Linked DNA regions of Homo sapiens: region 2 is linked to region 1. Evidence: promoter capture Hi-C in 16 types of primary human blood cells and fetal thymus (Javierre and others, 2016). All regions are on one chromosome and are shown on one strand. Each heading gives the region's core, a stretch centred on a gene start or on the middle of the fragment in contact. The rest is flanking DNA. Distances are from core to core; before and after follow the strand shown. Region 1 holds the start of TREM1 (triggering receptor expressed on myeloid cells 1). Region 2 overlaps APOBEC2 (apolipoprotein B mRNA editing enzyme catalytic subunit 2).

Evidence for each region. Contacts are between HindIII fragments. The CHiCAGO score rates a contact against its expected background, and 5 or more counts as called.
Region 2: a contact is called between a fragment that was not itself captured here and the fragment with the promoter of TREM1 in region 1, in 1 of 17 cell types (neutrophils). The highest score is 5.3, in neutrophils.

What each region holds. Positions count from the first base shown.
Region 1 is chr6:41,282,582-41,290,287 of GRCh38, forward strand. It overlaps TREM1 (triggering receptor expressed on myeloid cells 1), which reads right to left and starts at 4,101. Exons shown (of 4, transcript NM_018643.5): 1 at 4,026-4,101; 2 at 1-170. The coding sequence starts at 4,074. RefSeq lists a silencer at 6,086-6,175. The HindIII fragment of the contact is 6,846 bases long and covers 3,952-7,706 here.
Region 2 is chr6:41,061,387-41,069,092 of GRCh38, forward strand. APOBEC2 (apolipoprotein B mRNA editing enzyme catalytic subunit 2) reads left to right here. Exons shown (of 3, transcript NM_006789.4): 2 at 1-506; 3 at 2,715-3,505. The coding sequence ends at 485. OARD1 (O-acyl-ADP-ribose deacylase 1) reads right to left here. Exons shown (of 6, transcript NM_001329686.2): 5 at 7,455-7,567; 6 at 3,386-6,051. The coding sequence ends at 5,949. Among named protein-coding and RNA genes, the nearest start is that of OARD1, 7.1 kb to the right of the region's middle. The HindIII fragment of the contact is 5,527 bases long and covers 1,619-7,145 here.

The DNA of each region.
Region 1 (7,706 bases), core at 2,851-5,350:
AGGCCTCTCTGTGCATGCCAGGGTCTTGGGCATCTCTCCGTCCCTTATTATCTGCCAAGCTTTCTGGCTGCTGGCAAACTTCTCTAGCGTGTAGTCACATTTCACATCCAGGGTCTGCCCCTCTTTCAGTTCATACTTTTCCTCAGTTAATTTAGTTGCAGCTCGGAGTTCTATAAGCAGGGAAAGAGAATGGGTTCTGTGAGGAATTATTTTTCTCTCTCTGAGTGGGGAAAAAGGAGAGGAGCCCCCTGTTTTTCTTGTCCAACCACCCATATTTCAGATGAGGTTCTTGAGGCCTCCAGAGAAAATACAACTTGCCCTGCAAGCCAGCACTAGACCTCAGATCTTTCCACTGTGAGTAGGTTTTTTACTATAAGAGACTGCATATGGTGCATGAGGATCAAATTTCATAAATGATCAGAAGAGGAAGACTGACTTTGAGAGGAAGAAACTGCCTGCCTGGAGACAGAACATGGGATATTGTACTAAGACCACGAGTGGCTGCAGCATGGTGGGAGGGATCGATTACAAGGGCGTATGACATAAAAAGTGAACGCAAAGACACGGTGCTAGCAGAGAGTGGCTCCAAGGACACCTTGAGGAACTTCATCTAAGTCAGGGCAAGGAGATCAGCTCAAAAGACCTTTGGACAAACAGTGAGGAAGCCGTCTGGAGGGCATGATGGGCATGGATATCTGACTGCCTGGCACTCCTTTTTCCCTTCCTTGGGTAGCAGAGCACCCCTTTCCAAGGGAACGATCCTGTGTGGCTCTACTGTTGGGGCAGCCCACATTCTCAAGGATGGGCACAGGACACAGGATTTGCCAATCCAAGTACCCCATCTCGGGGCCAGGCACAGTGGCTCACGCATGTAATCCCACACTTTGGGAGGATGAGGAGGTCAGATCACCTGAGGTCGGGAGTTCGAGACCAGCCTGGCCAACATGGTGAAACCTTGCCTCTACTAAAAATACAAAAAAATTAGCCAGGCATGGTGGTGCACACCTGTAGTCCCAGATACATGGGAGGCTGAGGTGGGAGAATCACTTGAACCCGGGAGGTGGAGGTTACAGTGAGCCAAGATCACAACACTGCACTCCAGCCTGGGCCACAGGGCAAGACTCTGTTAAAAAAAAAAACACACACACACACACACACATACACAAAGTACCCCATCTCCCTGCCAGGCTGATTGGTTTAGGAAGGAGCACATGGCTGAGCTGGACCAATCAGAGTCCTCCCTGAGACTGCTGTAGCCATTAATGGAAATGCTTCTTGCTGGGATTCACAGGTCAATGAGATGTGAAACTTTATTATGTGAAACTTTCTACCACGTAGGAATAGGCTGCCCGAGAATGGCTAAACAGGCAGAAAGTGAGTGGGAGGAAGGAAGAGGGGGATAGTGGAGGGGAGAGAAAGAAAGAGAGAAAAAAACCCACGTTATCTGAGTCATGGACTCAGCTGTGCTCCAAAGGAGCACCCCTTGTACTTCCCAGTTACCTGAGCCAAGAAATGCCCCCTCCTATTTTTGATGTCACGGAGTCACAGCAGTGGTTCTCCACTGGGGAGCAATTTTTGCTCCCCGCCACAACTCTCCCTGAAACACTGGACAATATCTAGACATTTTTGGTTGTTATAACCAGGGAGAGGGGTGGATGCTACTAACATCTAATGGATACCAGGCTAAGCAATCTACAGTGCACAGGACAGCCCCCACAACAAAGAATCATCCCACCCCAAATGTCAATAGTGCCATGTTTGAGAACCCCTGGGTTACAGTGACAATAGTTTCCATCACATTCTTGGAGTCCGAACTGGGTTAACCATCTAGAATTGGGGATGCTCATCTGGCCTTGTCCAAGGGAGCCTTGCTGATGGGAGGCCAAGCAGAGCGGAAGTGAGAAGACCAAGGTCCGTGTTTTCAGCTGGACACACAGGGCTCTCTAAGTTTGCTGAGAGACTGTAGCTTACCCACTCAGGCCTGGGGTACCTTCCCCCATGGAGCACCAAATAACAGGCTAGACAGTGCTGCTGGGTCTACTGTGTGGGTCACGGTAACACTAGTACTGCTGTTATTAATACCACACACTTAGGTCCTTGCAGGCCTGGTGAAAAATGACAAGTGCTTACCCTTTCATGGAGCCCCCTGGCATGCCCACCCCAGGATAGGCCAACAGATCTGCCTGACCTTAGGAAGACTCAACTCAGGGACTCACAAGGAGTTTAAAGGTGAAATCAGTCTTGAAAGCCAGTTCTTCTGGGAGCAGACTCCAGTTTCTAGGGAAACCTCGGAAACAGACCTCTTGGGCAACTCCCACACACTCCAGTCAGGAATGTGCCTCCAAGAGACTGTTGACCAGAGGCTGAGTGTTGTCTGAAACCAAGCCTGGTTCCCTCATTTGTTCACTCACTCATCAGACTGGCTGGGAGACTTCTCTATCATAGGCACTGTGCTGGGCTCTTTGGAAGACACACAGACTCCATCCTCAAGTTGCCACCACTGAAGCCCTAACCTCTGAAGTTAATGTTACAGATAAATCTCTTTTATTTGCCAGCTCCCCAGGGAAGGTGGGAGTTACAGGTGACTGAGTTTGCAAACTTGCCTGTCTCTCACAGAAGGAAGGAGACAATAAGAAATGAAGGCTGCTGAGCTGTCTGTGCACAATTGCAAGAAGGGAATTCCTTTGAATATGTTAATTAAAAGGGTAGCAAATACTACCTATTAAGTATTATGTGCTAAGGGTTTTTAAAGACTATCTTATTTAATCTTTATAAAGTAAAAAGTTGACACCATTATTCTCCCCATTTTATAGATAAGGAAACTGAGGCACAGACAGATTAAGTGATTTGCCCAAAGTCTCACCATAGTTAAGTACTAGAGCCAGGATTCAAACCCAAGGACTCTGGTTCCACCTAAAGCACTGAGCTACATGGTCCAACACAGTCTGATAGGGATTAGAGAAGTCCTGGCCCAAGTGTGAATAAGTATCCAGTTGCAAGGAGCATTGAGGTTAACCCCTAACCTATCCCCACAGGGCACAATGAAATATATACCACTGGTTTTCTCTCACACAGGTACATAACCTTCAGCCCTCTGCCATCTCCCAGTTCTCCTTCAGAAAAACATGAATCAAACACAAGGAAATGCACTTGTCCATGAGGAGCTAACTCCCTTCTGCCCATCTAGATTATCACCCCAGCTCCAAGAAGACCCAGAGCAATGTCTGAGCACAGGCTCTTCAAGGCAGTTGTCCATGACTTTGCTCAAAGTAGAGAGCCCAGGAGGATACCTCTCCCTGATTTTTCATGCCTTCCCAAGGCAAGCCTCGCTTTTAACTCATATTGACACTTTCCTCCTGTTATTCATAAGGATTAGGAGGAGGAGTGAATAAAGCCCGCATGCTTCTGGTTTGGGTGCAGATGTGAGCTGTGCGGATCGTAAGAGGAGACACAAGAAAGAGCTGGGGCATGCGCCGGCTCTGCTGAGCCTCAGCAACTGTGCCCTCCAACCCCAGCGTGCCATGGAGAGCTGGGATGATCACCTCCACCAAAATGAGCACCAGCCTCTTCTGGTCACGTCTGTGTCCTCAGCAGTAGTATATTTGCTGTCCCATAGTAGACCCCTGGGAAATATTTGTTAAATCAATTCTGTCTTTTGGGTTTAACAGATTGTCAACATCAAACACATCATGATGGAATATAAGAAAAAAATTTCAACATCAAATAAACTTATTGTAGATCATGCCATGATGAGATCTACTCTATCATTATTCCCATACTAGGCTTTGCATGTCTCTAACAACATCGACATGCACAGACATCTTTTTTCCCTGACTCTCTCCTTCTTTTACTTTTGTGTGCAGACACTGCATGTTCTCCCAATTCTGGGTAGAGCAGCACGGTCTGCCATAACTACTGGTTGGCTCTATCTTGGATGGCCCTGTGCTCTGAAGCTTCAACAGAAAAGGGCTCCCCGAGATCCTGGACCAAACGCCTCCCCTGCTCAGTCCTCTTCCTTGTCTTACCTGAGACAAAGAGCATCCACAGCAGCCCCCAGAGCCTGGTCTTCCTCATCCTTCCTGTGCACCAGCTCCAACTGCTGCTGAGGGCTCCCGGGACAGCTACAAGGCACCACAATGACCTAGAGGCTTCGGAAAGTTGCACAACAGGATATGAGGCCATTCCTGGGAGTCACTGAGTTTGGGTTCTGTTTCATCACCAGTTGCTCTGACTCCTGACATCAACACAATAATACAGAGACCAAGACTCACTTCTCAGTTAAGTTTCTTTGAACTCCAGTTTTCCTTTCTGTGGTAATAATGACAATTACCTTTCAACCTTACAAAATCTAAGGGAGAATGATACTTGAATGTAAATCAAAGTAAGGCATTCATATTAGGAAGGGGAACAGAGGGCCCTTTGCTCTCCAGAGGCCCCCTCTCCATTCACATCCAGTTTAGTGTAGTGAAGAGAGTCAGGCCCACATAGGGAGAGGCTGCGACAATCGTATCTCATCTTCAGGGTTTTTGTGAGAACATGTTGCTTCATCCTGCCCTGCTCAGCCCCGTGGGTTCTCTTGGCTTCTGGTGACCTGGGGTGCACCTCCTCTTCATCACCAGGAGGGCCACACCCTGCATTTGTCCTTCAGCATTGCCACAGACATGGCCTGGGAGCTCACGGGGGTGTAGGGACCCCAGAAACAATTTGAGAGGACACTGCCACCACCCAACAAGAACAGACTTAGATTTAAAAAGGAAACTTGGTTCAAGACGCTGAAGCAAGAAGAAAAAATCCAGCAGGTTTTGTACTAGAAGCAAGAAAAGACAGATTTGACAGTGTGAAAATCAAATCAATAATGGAGAGGATTCACTTCAGAAATATTCCCAAATGTGAAATGAATAAAGACATTTAGAAGAGCTCAGAAATTTAAGGGAGGACAAATCACAGAATTCCAATCTACAAATCAGAGATGTCCTTAAAGCATAAAATGGAATGGTGGATCACAAGCAAGATTAAAAATTTTATCTTAAAAAATATGCTTTCCAGGTCTGAGAAGAAATCTAAAATTGGAGGTTGAGAGTTCAACATGGGCAAGGAAAAAATTCACAAAGTGAGACCTAGAATAGGAAGTTTCCAGGTGAAAATTTTTAAATTTAAATAAAAAGATTCCTACTGCTAAATAAACAAAAAAATAACTTGGTTTCTTCAAAGGAATTGAAATAATCAGGACTCAGATTTCTTCTCTGAGTAACAAATACCATGAGAGAGTGGGATGAGGTATAAAGAACATTATGACCCTAATATTTTACACCCAAATTGATTGCTACTCAAGTATAGGAACAGCTAAAAGGTACTATCATGTCTGTAAATTAAAACAAACAACAACCAAAAAAATTTTCAAGGCTAACTTTAATTTTTTTTATTAAAGCTGTTCAATGCAGCAATTTATAAAATATAGAAAATAATACATAAACTTAAATCATGTTATTACACTTTATAGAGATCATTTGTAGTGGAGATTTTACTATGTTTATTTTTTGTTCTACAAATAATGTCGGAAAACAGGCTTCAAACATGCTTGAACTGAAATCTGCTGGCCCCTCCTTTTGCTGTACTCAAGCAGTCCCTAAAGAGGAAAAATAGACAGAAAGCTCTTGACATTTTCTGACTCAGAGAGGAGCCTACGTGACTTCTGTGGCGATGAGTCAAATTAATAAAGTTTATTTCAGTGAATAAATCCCCTCCTTACAACAAAATTAATATTCCACACTTAAATAATAGCTATTTCACATACTTTCTACATTTTTGTGTCTTCATATACTTTGTGTGGAGGATTAAGCTCCTGGAAGATTAAGAGGGAGCTTTGAACTAAACAGTCCAAGAAGAATTTTTAATTAGACTTGAATATCACTGGAGGCTGATTGCTCCTTCACATTTTCCTAACTACGGACAGCACCTGCATTTAAATTAGAATGAAGTAGAATGAGGTCTTTCTCCACTTGTCTGATCTATTTGTGTACTTGAGGTCAACAGTGCAAATAGTCACGTGTCACTTAATGACAGATACATTCTGAGAAATGTGTTGCTAGGTGATTTTGTGTTGCAGGAACATCATGGAGTGCACTTACACGAACTTAACATGGCACAGCCTACTGTACACCTAGGCTGTATGGTATAGCCTATTAATATTAGGAAGGGGAACAGAGGGCCCTTTGCTCTCCGGAGGCCCCCTCTCCATTCACATCCAGTTTAGACAAATACCTTTCAACCTCACAAAATCTAAGGGAGAATGATACTTGAACATAAATCAAAGTAAAGCATATTCCTAGGCTGCAAGCCTGCACAGTATGTTACAGTCCTCAATACTGTAGGCATTTGTAACACAATAGTAAGTATTTGTGTATCTAAACATAGAAGAGGCATAGTAACAATACGGTATTATGACATTATAATCTTATGGGACCTCCACCATATATGCAGTCTGTCATGGACCAAAACTTCCTTGTGCAGCACATGGCAGCATTCTCTAATCCTTACCACTTTATTTTTCTGAGGAGTTTAATGACCCGATCAGTAACTTCTTCAGGCTGAATAGGCAGGACGATATTCCTGCCTAACTATTAGGGTCTCTTTAAATTCTCAAGCTACTGCTCCCAACAAGATATTATTTCTTAAGGCTTCTCATAGAAGAGCACTGTCATTTGTGACCTATGGTTCCTGTTAATTTTACTAAGGCTGGGTCACATGTCCCATTTCCATGCTTGCTCATAGGGTGGCCTCTAGCACTAGGAAGATTTAGTCTTTGGGTACCATGAACCTTTCCATATTTGCCAAACTTCATCTTCAGAGCTATTATGAAATCAATACAGTTTCAACATTGATACAATTAATGAAATAATACCAATATTATTCTGTTTTGTTTTGTCTTCAATAAGTCACTGCCCCAAGTCAGTAGGTCTCGATCTTCACTATGGGGTAAATTAGCAGTTTCTTCCTTAATAAAGATTGGTTAATCTAACCTAGCTAGAATATATGTGTAACATTTTTTAACAATGAGATTGCATATAAAATATCTTCTTTTCTGGCTCAGAGGAGGGGCCCACATGGAACTGGAACACAGATCTCTGAGGATAGTGTGACCCTGGTGCTGATATCTCTGAGGAGGCCCAATGAGACTACTTCTGAGAGTGGGGAAAACTGCAAACTGGAACCAGTCACTGTTGCCCGTGAAAAGCATCACTGAGGCTACTCACAATGAAAGAGAATGAAATAGGAATCAGTGAGCATGTCCTGTCTTCCTCCTCCAGCCTCCCAATCTCCCTCTAATGCCCCTATCGAGAGTCCAGCAGGGAACCAGCCAGCAAAGACAAAGCGAGTTTCAGAATCTCCACTCAAACCAAGGTAAAGAAGTGTTAATCAGAGAGACGATGACTGAATAACCAGCTCACTCACACAGTCAAACAAGAGCACTCCACGTGTCTGAGGCCTCACCTAGCAGTAAAGCAGACAAGTTGAATAGTTAAGAATCACAGTGGCATTTTATGAAGAACTTTCTTAGCATAGCTAGGGGGCATGGCTAATTTCACATGTCCCCAGGCCTTATCTAGAATCAATGCTCCAAAATAAATTGAACAACTTTTAAAAGTCAAAGAAGCAGTTTATGACCTTAAAGCATTTAGGAAACTTAATATCTGACCTGCATAATT
Region 2 (7,706 bases), core at 3,132-5,631, 220 kb before region 1:
GGAGGAACAAGACCTTCCTCTGCTATGTGGTTGAAGCACAGGGCAAGGGGGGCCAAGTGCAGGCATCTCGGGGATACCTAGAGGATGAGCATGCGGCTGCCCATGCAGAGGAAGCTTTCTTCAACACCATCCTGCCAGCCTTCGACCCAGCCCTGCGGTACAATGTCACCTGGTATGTGTCCTCCAGCCCCTGTGCAGCGTGTGCTGACCGCATTATCAAAACCCTTAGCAAGACCAAGAACCTGCGTCTGCTCATTCTGGTGGGTCGACTCTTCATGTGGGAGGAGCCGGAGATCCAGGCTGCTCTGAAGAAGCTGAAGGAGGCTGGCTGTAAACTGCGCATCATGAAGCCCCAGGACTTCGAATATGTCTGGCAGAATTTTGTGGAGCAAGAAGAGGGTGAATCCAAGGCCTTTCAGCCCTGGGAGGACATTCAGGAGAACTTCCTATACTACGAGGAGAAGTTGGCAGACATCCTGAAGTAGGGCAACTGGGCTTTGCCTCACGTGAGTTTTCCTGGTGCCATGGCACCAACACTTTATTATGTTAACTCCAGTAGAAGGTGTGAGGTCAGGTAGAATCTGTGATATGTCTGATTTTCCTTTGGAAGGGTTTCATTTCTCTGCTTTTGACTGGTTGCAAAAATAGTTTAGAACATGTCTCTTTCCTCTGAATCCCTCTCTAAACTTTTCCCTCCCACACTTTTGTATCAAAGTAACTTTCCCCTAACTTAGAATACTCAAGGTTGACAGGAATCCTAAAACTTTCATGAGGCAAGATGACGTTCTTTGGTAAGATTTAGATGGTGCAAGCACCTGCTACTGAACCACAGCAGAGAAGATACTGAAATCCTCTGAGTATGCCCCTGTGTACATGTCAGGGATTACTAATTCCAGACATCTTCTAGATGCCTCACTCCCATATCCACTGGCAATCTTACCATTCCATTTTTCTCTAATGAATGTTTTTTAGTCCTTCAGGGACAATTTTTTCACTTATGGTAATTTTGAAATTCCCCAAATGGACTGGTATTTAACTTGTTTTAAGCCAGACCTGCTTTCATGTTTTCAAACAAATGGCTACACTTTGAAGGAGACCAACAATTGCTGTGTGAAAATACAATACGGGAACATTTTCCTTATGTTGAGAAGACCTCAGTAGAATTCATGGAGGATGTCGAATGCAGGAATGGGGATAATATAGCAACAAGCTAGTCCATGCAGGAACATTTAAAGAGTTAAAAAGACATTTGTAAAGTAGGCAGCAGCTCAGAAGTAACCTCTTACAGATATCAAGAGGTGATAGGAGAAAGATTAGCTATTTAAGCAAATAATTAGGACACAATTAAGGCCAATTTGGCCTCTTGCTGAGGGTAAATTAAACTCTAACAGAAACAGGCTAATTACCCTCAGGAAAGAGGGCTAAAGGATCCTTTACTATCTTTTTTACATTTAGTCTGATTGAGTTTGCGCCTACAGAAATGCTATGACGAAGCCCCCTTTGCAAGGCCCCAGTTACTGATCAAAATCTTCCAGTAATAGAGGAGGGGTACTCACGACACTCTTACCCAACTTTAATCCTGCAACAACTCACATATTACTAAAACATGAAAACAACAAGCTTCCATGAAGATAATTTACTTTTGGTCTCTCTCACTCCTAACACCCTTAAGAGAAGATGTCGCTTCATAGACACGTTTAGGAAATATCAATGTTCCAGAGCTTGATGTTGGCAGGTGTTTTCTATTAGACATGCACATGGGCACCTGATCATTCTCAAGCTGAGCATTTGCCAACCCATGAAGATACAACTTTCAGCCATTTCTTTTAAAAAGCAGGACCCAGTCACTGAAGTCAGTGAGCCTATGATAGGGTATACTGTGTGGTACTCTGCTCACATAAAATAAGACACTTTATAGTGGTGAACAGTAGTCAAAACAGATTTCTGAGGGTGCCCTCTGAGAATATAAAATTTAACTTTTAGAATTCCTTGAAGATTTTGTTAGTGTATGTACTATCACTGTAATTATAAACCCAACATAGATTCTACAGACTAACCGGCAGCTTAAAATTTAACCCCAGTATATTTTCCTTTCAGACATCTTTCAGAGTCAAGGGCCCAGGTGCCTAACTAGCAAGTCCTTAGAGCTTTTTTTTTTTTTTTTTTTTTTCAGTGATTTCAAATATAACTGTATTATCTGGACCCATTAACATGCTTCCCTGTCTTCTATTTGAATTGCTCATGTTTGTGAAGGGAAAGGTTAAGATATATCAAGTTAAAAAAAAAAAAACTGGCATGAGATAAGAGTGTAATCTAAAAGCCCAAAAGAACAACCCTGCTTAATTAAAATAATCTTGAGAAATGAGCATTTGTTAAATAAAGTGTCTTATTTTACATACTTATTTCATCTTTCTTTTTTTTTTTTTTAATGACAAAATAGTATTTAATCCTATATTTAGTCAAAAGACCAGAGTTAAACCAGATCTCTTCTGGGGCTTTTTCTGTGTAAACCACATCAAAACATGAACGAAAGACTGGCTTCTGGTTTAGTCAATCCTGGTAAATTTACCCAATCCTGCAAAGGAAACTATGGAGGAGAAATCCAGGGACTTGTTGGGAAGGGCACACAGAAACCTTAGTTCAAAAAGAAACTAGTCATTGTTCGGGGCCAGCAGAGCTCTCAGTAACACATTTTCTTTGTTTGTTTTACCAAGGTATTCCTGCTGCCACCAAGAGACAGCAATGACATGTACAGCCATCTGGGACATGCCTGTCTTCCTAATACCATTTGGAGCTGGACAACATTTGACACCAACCAATCATACTGGACAAGGCCCTTAGAGGACTTGAAATATACTTCTCATGCTGTAGTTTATTTAGGCTGTGACTCTCTCTCTAATGCTGCTCTCGGGAAGGACGAAAGTGACCTGCAAGGAGAGAAATGCAACCATACATGGGCTCCAGTCAACTATGGGACTGAAGGTCCTAATTGCTCACCCAAGGGGGCTGCTTAACACAAACAGCCTCAGACCCGAGGTTTAGATTTCTGAAATATGCATTTTATGTTAAGTTGGGTATTTTTTTAAAAAAAGAAAAACAGCAACATTAATAAAAGAAGTGGTGTGTTTTTCCCGTGGCCAGATTTTTAAGAAACTTGAACATCTGGAAGTTGCCACAGACAAGCGAGCTAGTCCAGACACAGGGACACTCCAGGCTATGAACCAAGCCATGGTTAAACCAAGACTTGCCTAGACAATGCAGAATAACTCTCCCATACAGACTTCTTACGACAATCAAGTGAGGGCCTTTCCCTTCTCTGAAGGCAAGTAATAGGGCAGAAGGTGGAACAAAAAGCATGAGAAATCTAAGGTAGCCACATCCCAAATGCCAGTTAATAAGCAACTAGCTTCTTTATTAGAGAGGAGCGGGTGAAAAGTAGTAGTTTAATGTTCAGATATACAATCATTTAAAAGTATTCAATACATGGTGTTTGATGGTAATGGCAGGATGATGTCAAGTCTCTCTTTTTTTTTTTTTAAAGGTTTGTTTGAGTCCTATGTGGAAGCAAAAATTCACAGGTGAATTTCCGGGTGTTTGCCAAACTCTAACTAGGTTTCCAGGAATAATGTGTTCACTCTGATTACCAGGGCATGCCTCCTTTCCTCAGGCTTCAAGTGTGATAAGTCGTCGGAATTTGACCCAAGACTACTATCGGCAAATGACAAAGTGCTTTATCACATTCCTGCTAAGTCCCAGAATTCCACTTACAGCCAATCCTGAATGAGACTAGGTTTTGTCTAAAGAATCAAGGCTCAAACGCCAAGAAAAAAATAATAATAATAACCATAATCTCTTTAAAAGTAAAGGAAGCCTAGAAAATCCATGTTTTGACTTGTGTTAAGGTTTACAGATGGTACTCAATTTACAATGGTTTGTCTTGCAATTTTTGGACTTTACAACGGTGCAAAAGCCATACACATTCAGTACACCCTTCAACTGAACTCAACTTAAGATGGGGTTACCCAGACATAGACCTAAGTTGAGGAGCATCTGTAATTGCAGAGTTAAGCAAAATATTTTAAGTTTCTTTAAGTTTCTTATCCCCCACTCTCACTTTCAATTTTGTGTATTTAGATAATCTCTCCTTCCTTTTTCCCTTCAACTTTATGTGGACAAAAGCAATGCTTCAAGAAAAGCCTCAATCTAAAAGTTTGATAATGAACTTGACCCTCCACTGCCCCTACCCCAACAACATGAAGAACTTGTCTGTTCCACCTAGAAATACAAAAGTGAAATACTTTTTTGAAACTGTTGCCTCTTATCAGGCTGATATGTGATAAGAACACAGTCTAAAGTACAAAGATTATATTTAACCAGTACTTTCCTGGTGTTTTAACCAGCCCCTTCTAAAATACAGTTGTTCTTTTATACTTGGGAAAGCAGCAAGTCCTGTGACAGACCCAAAGTCACTCTAGGGAGAAAATCAATAGCAAGTCTGGCTGTTTTAACTCTCAACACCACTGTAAGGGAAAACAAGAAAATGTCTAGTTTCCCGAATAGCTCTGATACTGAACCATTGGCTAAATCCATGAACTTTATTTTCCTACCATGACCACAATAGACGACTGGTCTTTGCAGCTTCGGAAGAAAAGAGGACTAATATTTAGACCCCAGCTGGCTGCACATCCAAATCTTCTATGGAGGTTAAAAACACAAAAGTGGCCATCCCACTCCACCACCAAATTTTTTTTTTTAATTGAGATAGGGTCTTGCTCTGTTGCCCACACTGGAGTGCAGTGGCACAATCACAGCTCAATGCAACTTCAACCTCCCAGGCTCAAGCCATCCTCCCGCCTCAACCTCTAGAGTAGCTGGAACTACAGGCCTGCACCACCAGGCCCAGCTAATTTTTAATTTCTTTTTTTTTTGTAGAGACAGGGTCTCGCTATGTTAACCAGGTTTGTCTCAAACTCCTGGGCTCAAGTCATCCTCCAGTCTCAGCCTCTCAAAGTGCTGAGATGACAGGTATGAGAATTTTTTGAGAGGAAGTGGCCTTTATTTTTTTAAAGAAGACTCATAAGGATTTTTGACAATCACTGATTTATTGGGTCACTAGTCTGTGCTAAGTACTCTGCCAGGCATTTAACATACATTATTTCACTTGTTTTCATGATTAAATTCAGGCAGGTTCAATCACAGAAACCATGCAGTGGACAAAAGAGAGAAAAAGTTCACCATGAGGAGATTCTAAAAACCTGCCTTTTGACTTGTCTATTTTTATCTCTTATTTCTCACTTTGCTTCTCCTCCCGCTTGGACCCTTTGTCTGACTGTTTGAAATTAAGTTGCAGGTGAACCCTCCATTACCCATGTCCAGAACAAATAGACATAAGCACAGAACCTCACTAACTCCCCAAATTTTTATTTTTCCATTTTTATCACCACAAATTTCTTGGTAACAATGTAGAATTTAATTTTGTAATTAAAACAAAAACTCTCCCCTAGGAGGAATCTGATGACATAAGGATAACACCAAGTTATGTGCACAAACGACAAAAAATGCCAAACTAACTGGAATGATCATCCTTCCTGAAATTTCTCTTAAAAAGCAGAGAAGTAGAACCAATGCTGCCACCTAGTGGCCAGCCAAACAAATCAGGTAGCATACTGGAGAAAAAGGTCATAGTCCCGACAATCTGGTTTCCCTGCCTATTATCAAGCCACCTAACTCCTTACTTTTCCACAAAAAAACACAACCACATATCTTAAGCAAGCCCTCCTCCACAGTCATAATCCAAATACTTGAATACAGCAACCAAAGTCTGTCTTGTTAAACACACTACTTCTCATGAAACTTTCCTCTGCCTATTTTAAGGTAGGTTTGCCCGGTCCTATGGCCCAGTAGAGATGACACAGGAGAACACGGAAACATCCAAAATGTTCACTGGTTCAGAGTGTGTACACAGTAATTTTGATGTCTGTTGCCTCAAATACCTCCTCGATCATCGCAGATACATTTTCCCATTGCAGACGATCAAGACCACATCCAATCCTGAAAAAGACAAAATATCTCCATTGATGGTAACGAAAGTATCTAGGAAACTGCTCCTCTCTTTTAAGCTATATCCACTCAAAGCATAAAAACAAATAATCTAGTCTGACACCCTTATGGGCAACCATGGTAGGAGTTTGGAAGTCAATTCTTGTTGTGAGTCACCGAAGACCATTCCTAGACAGCTCTAACATCCAAAAACTATCACTTCTGTTTGCCTAATAAGATACTACTTTCCAACTATTTCATGCTACATTTAGAAATGTGTAACTGTCATGACATTAGAGACTCATTATCCCTCTATGACTACTGACTAAAATTGGCTGTGGATGGATGGTGAAAGGTTGGTATTTTAAAAATGCACTTATGGTAACAGAATGTTAACGAAAGTAAGGAGAAGAGGAATGAGGTACAGGATCTGCAAAAAAGAAAGTCAAGAGGGAATGCTGGGAAATGGTAAGATAGTTGCAATCCAGGAGTAAGGTCTTTGCAACACCCTGGTAAGAATAAACTCAGTCCATAAAACTCTACTACTTGGCACCTTCCAAGATGTTACTCTAGTGATCCTCAACACGCCTAGGGAAAAAAGAGACCTAAAATTGGTAATTTCATGTCATAATGTGATAATTAAGTCCATAAGGAATTGTGATTAAAAAAAAAGTTTCTGATATGTATGTACACCATAAATATATCAAAGACCAGTGTAAAATAAGGGACATTTGAGGCCATATGCAAAGTAATGTGGGGCGCAAGATAAAACTGCATGTATGCTCAGCATTGACTCAAAACTACCAGGGTGACAGGAAGAAAAGAGGTGAGGCCCATTTCCTGAAAAGAAAGCAAAGGGACTACTGAACCCTCAATGTCATTCCCTAAATTCCCAATAGCTAAAGTCTAAGAAGTTACATCAGGGACAGATCCTCTGGCTATTACCCATACTGACCAAAACAAGTGTGCAGTATAAAAGGGAATGATAATTTACAACTTTCTTGACGCAAAGTAATAGGTTTGGGAGATGGGAAGTGGTCCAAGAGGAAAACCACCATTGCTCAGTCTTGATTCTTTAGCTTACATTGCTTTAGGAATAAAGGCCAAGCTTCAAGCAGAGGGTGCTGAGAATTCAACAAATGTAGCTGAATGACAATGGTCGCTCTCTGCTAAGCAGGCTGAGGCAGATGTATATTTCAAGGTAATTGTCCTGATTCATTCAACTCAAGCTAGAAAATGGCTGTGCCTTAGTCTAAAGCCAGACAACTGGTTCACTGGTGGTTTTACAAAATTTTGACTTTTGTCCACCTTTAAATCTATATTTTGGGTTAAGCTTTTAAGTTGTTTGTCTTTGGGTAAGATAGTAAACCCCACCAATCAATTAAATCTCCATTTAGGACCATGGATTTCCTTGCCTGGGCATGGAGAGGTCAGTGACTCCATTCTTCAGACAATGAGACTTCATTGCCTCTAAACTCTTCTGTAAGTTTTCATAAGTTGGCTTGTGCGAAGCCCTTTTCTTTGTAATCTGAACACAAAGGATTCAAACTTTCATCATCCCAAAATGATAGCCAAAGAAAAGTCATCACATTCCCCCAACATCCCAATAATTAAAAGAGTAAGCACATTTTTATAGAATTAGTCTAGAGCAAGGATGACAAATGTCA